Regions from separate parts of the Homo sapiens genome. Here region 1 is linked to region 2. The links are contacts of gene promoters, found by promoter capture Hi-C in human tissues and cell types (Jung and others, 2019). All regions are on one chromosome and are shown on one strand. The core of a region is centred on a gene start or on the middle of the fragment in contact, and the rest is flanking DNA. Distances in the headings are between cores, read along the strand shown. Region 1 has its middle 50 kb from the start of GPR6. Region 2 holds the start of PPIL6 (peptidylprolyl isomerase like 6).

What was found. The method cuts DNA at HindIII sites, captures the fragments that hold promoters and counts their contacts. A contact is called where the count stands out against the background at its distance.
Region 1: a fragment that was not itself captured here is called in contact with the fragment with the promoter of PPIL6 in region 2 in 1 of the 25 tissues and cell types used here (dorsolateral prefrontal cortex).

What each region holds. Positions count from the first base shown.
Region 1 is chr6:110,025,585-110,030,046 of GRCh38, reverse strand. No RefSeq gene overlaps it. Among named protein-coding and RNA genes, the nearest start is that of GPR6, 50 kb to the right of the region's middle. The HindIII fragment of the contact is 6,911 bases long and covers 1-4,462 here.
Region 2 is chr6:109,438,596-109,442,652 of GRCh38, reverse strand. It overlaps PPIL6 (peptidylprolyl isomerase like 6), which reads left to right and starts at 2,025. Exons shown (of 8, transcript NM_173672.5): 1 at 2,025-2,197. The coding sequence starts at 2,063. SMPD2 (sphingomyelin phosphodiesterase 2) reads right to left here and starts at 1,929. Exons shown (of 10, transcript NM_003080.3): 1 at 1,482-1,929; 2 at 1,200-1,296; 3 at 1,025-1,101; 4 at 586-679; 5 at 354-443; 6 at 28-110. The coding sequence starts at 1,531. RefSeq lists enhancers at 1,045-1,124, 1,285-1,354 and silencers at 1,768-1,973, 1,615-2,434. The HindIII fragment of the contact is 4,118 bases long and covers 1-3,851 here.

The sequences.
Region 1 (4,462 bases), core at 1,658-4,157, 590 kb before region 2:
TTGAAGTATTGGGCTTATTCAAAACTAAAGGCTTCTACTCTTCAGAATAAATTATTTTAAAAAATGAAAAGGCAAGCCACAAACTGGGAGAAAATATTCTTTATTTATAATATAAATTATATATAAATGTATATTTATTTCACATATTAATATAAAATTATAAATATATAAATATATTTTACATATCAATATAAAATATATAAATATATATTTATAAATAAAAATATATAAATATTAAATATATATTTATAAATATAAATATATAAATATTAAATATATTTATATTTCATATTATATAAATGAAATTATTTGTATTCACAAATATTTAAATATATGTATTTATCAAATATATTTGTGAATATTTTGTGAATCTAAATCTATCTAAAATAATAAAAGGCTTACATTCAGAAGACTCAAGAAGATGATGAAAACTCACTGAAAAAATGGGCAAAGCTTTGAACAAGCATTTCACAAAGGAAGATATACAAAAGGTCAGTAAGCACATGAAAAGATGCTCAAAGTTATTAGTCATCAGGGAAATACAAATTAAATATATAATGAAATGCTATGATACTCTGTCTAGAATGGCTAACATTGAAAAATAAGCTGACAATATAAAGCATTAGCAAGGATTTGAAATTACTGGAACTCATACGTTGCTGAAGGATGTGTAAAATGGTATTATCATTATGGAAAAGTCTGGCAGTTTCTTAATGAAATTAAACATATGCTTACCATATGACCCAGCAATTTCAGTCCTGTATATTTGGCCAAAATAAATGAAAATATAGGCCTGCAAGAAAGATTTTCATGCAAATGTTTATAGTAGCTTTATTCATACATGCCCCAGATTGGAAACAGCACAAATGTCCATTAACAGATGAATATTTAAACAAAATGTAGAGCATCCATACAGTGGACTACTACTCAACAGTACCAATAATCCAACTTCTAATGTAGACAATATATATGCTTTTATTTGTATGAAACTCTAAAAAGCTAATTTATGGTGACAGAGATCAGATAAGTGGTGATGGGGTAGGGTATGGGGGCAAAGGATTGACTGGAAAGGAACTTAAGGGAACTTTTGGAGTGATGCTGAAAATTGCTATATCCTGAATGGGGGTGATTGATCCACAGGTGTATACCTTTGTTAAAATTTATAGGTCTAAATCCAAAACCAGTGCATAAAGTTGGCATTTAAAAAATGTTAATATCCTACCTTTTTTTTTTGAATAGCTGAAATTATTTGTTTGTCACCCAGGCTTGAGTGCAATGGTGCAATCTTGGCTCACTGCAACCTCTGCCTACCCGGTTCACGCCATTCTCCTGCCTCAGCCTCTGGAGTAGCTGGGACTACAGGTGCCCACAACCATACCCGGCTAATTTTTTGTATCTTTAGTAGAGACGGGGTTTCACTGTGTTAGCCAGGATGGTGTCGATCTCCTGACCTTGTGATCCACCCACCTTGGCCTCCCAAAGTGCTGGGATTACAGGCCTAAGCCACCGTGCCCGGCCAATATCCTACTTTTTTAAAGAGATCAAATTAATTAATTTTTGTGGGGGGTGAAATTATTAGGGCTCAAATCAGCGATGGCTTTGATCCCACAGTTAGGTTTCTTAGAGCAGGGCATATCAGGGAGCATGCCAAACACAGCCAGGGTGGCCCAGGTACCTGTCTCCAGGTGCACCTCTTCGGGTTGTCTAATGTCAAAAGAAATGCAATCAGAGGCACTCTGGCAACAAGCATAATCCAACATCTGATTAATCTGTGTGCTTTCTTTCAAAAATGGGTTGGAATCAGCTTATAAAATTATCTGTAAGAGGATAGAAGATAAACAGTTGAGGAAATGGAAACAAAGGGAAAATAATGAAAAGAGATAAAGCTAAGAGTGAGGCAAAAACACTAAGATAACTACTGCTATGGTCTGAATGTGTCCCCCAAAATTTGTGTGTTGGCAACTTGACTTCCAGCACAGCAGTGTTGGAGGTGGGGCCTTTTGGAAGGTAGTTGGTCATGAGAGCTCTGCCTTCATCTATGGATTAATGCTGTTATAAAAACGGCTTGTGGGAATGGGTTCTTTCTCTCCTGTTCCTCTGTGAGGACACAACGTTCATTCCTTTCTTGCCCTTCTGCCATGTGAGGATGCAGCAAGAAGGCCCACACCAGATGCCAACACCTTGATCTTGGACTCCCCAGTCTTCATAACTGTGAGAAATACATTTCTGTTATTTATAAATTACCCAGTCTGTGGTATTCTGTTATAGCAGCACAAAATGGGACTGAGAGCTACCTAACATTAAGTCCTATACAAGAGTAGAAGTGGGCTGCAAAATTGACTGAGCCTCCTAGCAACTGAAGCAAAAAAGGAAACATAATCACAGTTCAATCACAGTGGCCATAGATAAAAACAAGCCTGTTTCTACACATGGTATATTTAGCACATCATTTTTCTGAGATTTGTTGGGCAGAAAGAAGACTTGTTGATATGGACTTACATGAGATTTGTCAGGAAATCTGAATGCTTCTTACTACCATTATTGTTTTTGACTTTGCAAAAATTCTATCCTTGCTCATGCGTAAATTAGAAATATCATGACTTCAGAACGTTGGATGTTTCAGCTCCTGACCAAGATGAAAATCACAAACTTGCCAGTAGATTTTGAATCCAGTCCACATTCTCAATATTCTTGAGCCTCCGGAGTATCCCTTTGTTGAAGTGGATTCCAGAGAGGAACGGACTTCTCTGGGTCCAGTGTAACTGATCAGAGACAACCTCTGGGATGTTGCAAGGATTGTGGGAACCCAGAGCTGAACAGTGGATTCTTCCAGGGCATTAAGGGCCAGAATAATAATGTTATCTTGTCCATACAGAGGAAAAATTACAAGTTTTATAGCTACTAAATACAAGGCTCTTCTGGCATTAGGCATGATAGATATCTCAGGGAAGTGAAAAGGTCAGTACTCATTTTAGTAAAGGTTCCCCAGATCTGAGGAAGAGAGGGTATTCCAGTTGGCCTGAGGGGAAGACTGGCATTCACTTCAGTCTTCATTCTTGAGAAGATTTACTAGTTTAACATCATGGTAAAATAGATGTTAATTCTAGGGGGAAATCTCTTCCATTTTGTAATTTAACTAAAAGATAAAAAATAAATGAGCGGATATTTTCATATTTTTGAGATACCTATAATGCCTAATGTTAAAAGATACATTTATTAGCTATGAAACTTTTAATTTTTCAATTGTTTTGGCAAGATAACATTAATAGCCATAATATAAAATAGAAAAAAATTTACCCCAATTATTCCTATACAATATATCATTCTTATTTTGTAATTCTGCTTTTGTACCAAATGATATATCATACAAAAATTTAATGTTATGCAAGCATATTCATAATTGTCTTTGTAAATGACAATATTAATTACATATATAAGTTAGTTAATTATTTCCTTATACACTTACATTTATCCAGTTGCTTCACAAGTATAGATCGTGCTTTGGTAAAGCATTCTTTTCTTTTGGAATATATTACTCAGATGGCATTTCAGAGTTGAAAGGCTTGAAGATTTTAATGGCTTTTAATATGTATTGACGAATTGTCAAAATTCTGCTTCAAATTGCAATAACACCTAGCAATATATGAATACACAAGTTTTACCAGTCTCATCAACATTGGGTTTCATAAGATTTTCTATATTTGGCTAATCTATTATTTAATTTTTTAACATAATGCATCTGGGTTTTCTTTTTAACCTTTCTTCCTTTTATTTTTATTTTTCTTCCAACTTTTATTTTAGATTCAGGGGATACATGTGAAGGTTTGTTACTTGGGTATATTGTATGATGCTGAGGTTTGGGGTATGAATGATCCCGTCGCCCAGGTACTAAGCATAGTACCCAATAGTTAGTTTTTCAAAACTTGCCCCTTCCCCCTGCCCCCTCTGATAGTCCCCAGTGTTTATTGTTGCCATCTTTATGTCCATGAGTACCCCATGTTTACTTCCCACTTATAAGTGAGAACATGTGGTATTTGGTTTTCTGTTTCTGCATTAGTTCACTTAGGATAATGGCCTCCAGCTGCAACCATGTTGTTGCAAAGGACATTATTTTGTTCTTTTTATGGCTGTGTAATAGTTCATGGTAATACATACAATTTGGTTCCTCCCTCGTATGAATTTTTGGTTGTGTGGAGTGGGATGCAGAACATTTTTTCATATGTATTTTGCTACTTATATTAAGGGAGGAGATCACCCCTCATATTGTCTTATGCCCAATTTCTACCTCCAAAGAAAGAAGAAGTAAAAAGTAAAAGGCAGGAATGAAATCCACAGGCAGACAGCCCGGTGCCATGCCCTGGGCCTGGTAGTTAAAGATCAACCCCTGACTTAACCGGTTATGTTATCTATAGATTCCAGACATTGTATGGAAAAGCATTGTAAAAATCCCTGTCTTGTTCTG
Region 2 (4,057 bases), core at 776-3,275:
TCCCATTTCAAGCCCAGGCTCACACACTGGATGAACTGGGCCAATTCCCAAGCTTGGGCCACACGATGTGCTAGGTAGATGTCCTTCTGTCGATTGTATTCGGCATGGAGCTGAGCAAGATAGATGAGATCACAGCAGATAAGACTGAGGGTCCCAGGGGTATGTCTGAATCAAGCCTGTGTCTGTCACTTGGCATGGTGTTTGGTATACAATGGATAAGCCTTGCCCATTGCTTCCTTATAAGATCTTGCCCCCACACCTCATCCCCAGGTATGAGAGCTAGAGAAGTACCATCTCTCTGTCCCAGGACTGGGCTGCATGTCCCAGCCCTAGGCACTGCCAGCTTCACTCACATGGGTCACATAGGCGTTGAGCACCATGCCACTTAGATGGAGCACCAGCAGCCCCACAGCCTTCCCACTGAACCAGTCACCATGATGGATCTGCAGGCAGGAGGAGATAGAAACTCAGGGCACCGCCACCATCTTTCTGCCCATCCCCTGCAGCTCTCAGAGGGCTGCCTCCTCTACCTTGTATTACTGGAGGTGGGGAAGGGAGGTGGAAGAGGTCAAAGGTCTGCCTTACCATGTAGGGGTAGCCATTGAGAGTGTAGATGTGCTGGGTAAGCTCCTGGATTGGATGTTTGGAGAAGACACAGAGGCCACTGCCAATGATTCCGCTGAAAGCCAAGCCCTGCTTAATAACCAGAAAAACAGGGAGAGACACCCAGCCTTCTTCCCCTCCCTTGTCTTCCAGCTCTGATCAGCTATTTTTTTCTTTTTCTACTGCTGGGACTAGCCCTAGAACCAAGGCGACAGCCTTTGGAGGAGTATAGGGCAGCCAGAAAACAAAGCTGAAATGGGCTGAAGTCATAGGACCTTCTTGGTTCACCCTTCTCCTTCTCTCACATCCAGAGGGAGAGGAGGCTGGAGGAGACTGGAGAGTGCAGGCAGGATAGGGAAGGGCTGGCAGGGCCAAGAGCCTCCTGGGATGACAACAGGCTTCAGGCCAGTGGGCTTCTCACCTCCGGAAGTGGTGTGCAGCTGGGTAGGTAGGTGACAGCTTCTGTCTCAGGTACTGGAAGTCCTGCTCACTCCACACCTGAGGGAAGCGGTGAGGATGCCTGCTTGGTCTTTCCCCAGTGGGACGGTCTGTCCCTCCTCCCAGCCTGGGTTCCGCACCGTGCTGCACAATCTCACCTCCTCCAGCAAAGCCAGGTCGAAGCTCTCCTGGTTCAGAAAGTCTCCCAGGCGCCTCATGCGGTCGGCCCGGTGCTTGCTCAAGTACGGAATGCCCCTAAGGAAGGGAAGAGCGGGGCAGGGGAGGCGACTGCTGGGACCACCGGCGCTGGGGCCAGATGTGGACTTTGGAGGTTCGGGTTTTCCCTACACCCTGAGATCGTGGGGCGGGATAGGGGGAGGAAGGCTGCATGGGTGCGAACGGAAGGTGGCCCCCAGACCGCACTCCGCAGACGCACTCACCAGCAGTTGAGGTTGAAGATCCGCAGTCGCAGGGAGAAGTTGGGCTTCATGGTTGGGGAGCTCCAGGGGCGCTAGGCGGCTCGAACTCTCCAGCGACGGCCGCGGTGGGGACGGGGGCGGCCGGCGGCGCCTTCTCCCCAGACCGTTCCTTCTTCGCAGGCGGCGCGCACAGGTGGGCACCAAGCCCGCGTGGCTCAGGTCGGGCCCGACTCCCGCGTTCCCCCGGCAACCGGCCGGCTGTTCCCAATCAGGCGGGCCGCCAACCCGGAAAGGCGATCCGCTGCCGAAATCCGGGCGCCCAGGCTCGGTAAGGGCCGCGCGCTAGGACCCTGGGGGTCCGGAGAGCGCCCCCGGGTGGGCGGCTCCCGGTTCCTTTTCCTCCAAGCTCGTCCCCGGCGGTCGCGGCCGCCCGCGCGCCGGCGGCCCAGCAACAGGCGCAAAGTTGAGGAAAGGCCCAGCCGCCACGGGCCGCCCTCGACCCGCCCCTGGGCCCCGCCTCCTGCGAGCGGCGGAGGCGGGGCCGCGCGGTTGCCGGAGCGACGCGCAGTGTTTGGGGTCACCGGGCGTCCCCGGGCGCGGCCATGGCAAGGCCGCAGCCGTGCGGGCCCCCGCACGCTAGGTGCGGCTCGCCGTCGCTGCCGGAGCGGCCGCTGCAGGTGAAGGTGGTGGGGCTCTTCAGCTGCCCCAACTTTCAGATTGCGAAGAGCGCCGCTGAGGTAACCACAGAGAAACCTCCGTCGTGGGCGGCCCTCCCCGCTACCCGCTCTCGGCCGCGTGGACTGCAGGCGCCGCGCCTCCTCGAGGCGGCGGGGGTCGAGGCCCCACCGGCCGAGGAAGGGGCTGGCGTGTCCTGGCCGGGCGGGCTCCGTCTGGAGGACCGGGAGGAGAGTATAGGGGGGCAAGTGCGGGTCCGGGGGCGGGCGTTCCACTTGGCGACTTTTAAAGGGAGAACTGAGCGAAGGAAGGGTTCAGAACCGCGCTGGGAGATAAGGTAATCCCCTCCGAGACACACACACACACACCCGCAGATTTTGTTCTACGTCAATTTTTTCTTTAATTAGAGATATTTAAATTTATGGAAAAATGATTACTATATAACTAGCTAATTTTTACAACCCCGCCACCTCGGCCCAAGCGATTTTTGTTAACTATTCATGCGGGGAGATTCTTTTCTTTGAATTTTATAGAGCCGTCACTGCGTTCCAATCGAACTAGATGCTTCACAAGTGCTTTGGAAAATCATTTCTTTGTAAACACTCAGAACGATACTAAAGGAAAAGCACTTGAGGAAACTGGAAGAATTTGGCCAGATCAGTCATGCTGCAGCACACTTACAACCTGAAATGCAGGAGAAATGTATGAAATGTCGGCATGTAGAATTCAGCCCTTCTTACAGGGTTTGCTCCAGAAATGCTGTCCATGGCAAACTTCTCGCCGAAGCTCACTTGACTCCAGGACCATGCCTTAATTAATGTTTTTAACTCCCGAAGTACCCAGCTGGATACTTGACAACAAAATGTTCCCAAATAGAAGATATCTTGGCGCGGTGACTCACGCCTATAATCTCAGCACTTTGGGAGGCAGAGGCGGAGTTCTAGACCAGCCTGGCCAACATGGTGAAACCCCGTTTCTACTAAAAATACAAAAAATTAGCCGGGCGTGGTGGCGGTCTCTGTAATCCCAGCTACTCAGGAGGCTGAGGCACAAGAATCGCTTGAACCCGGGAGGCGGAGTTTGCAGAGAGCTGAGATCGCGCCATTGCCCTCCAGCCTGGGCGACAGAGCCAGACCCCGTCTCAAAATAAATAAATAATAAAAAGAAAACAAGTGATCAGAAGTCTGTGAAAATAATACATGAATCATCAAAAGTAGAAATTGTGGTCTGTGTTGCTTGGGCAGACGGGATCAGCAACCTTTTATTACCAAAGTTAATGGCCATGAAGTTAATTACAAAGTTAATGTATTAATGAGTTTCAGAGATTTTTTTTCTCTTTTTTTTCGCTCTTTTTCTGAAGGCACATATTTTCTGTGCCGACTCCACATTGTAAAGAAAGTGTTGACAAGTTTTTTTCTGTAAAGTCCAGATAGTAAATATGTTAGGCCTTCTTGGCAATAGGGTCTCAGTCACACCTGTTTAGCTTTTTCCTGTGTTGCAAAAGCAGACACAGAGATGGAAATGAATGACAGTATTCCAGTAAAACCATATTATGGACACGAAATTTGACTTGCGTATAATTTTCACATAACGTGAAATACAATTCTTTTGATTTTTTAGAATTGTTTACAGGCCGAGCGCGGTGGCTCTTGCCTATAATCCCAGCACTTTGGGAGGCTGAGGCGGGCAGATCACGAAATCGGGAGTTCAAGACCAGCCTGGCCAACATGGTGAAACCCCATCTCTACTAAAAATACAAAAATTATCCAGGCATGGTGGCGGGCGCCTGTAATCCCAGCTACTCGGGAAGCTGAGGCTGGAGAATCGCTTGAACCCGGGAGGTGGAGGTTTCGGTGAGCTGAGATCGTGCCACTGTGCTCCAGCCTGGGCAACAAGAGTGAGACTCTGTCTTAAAAAAAAAA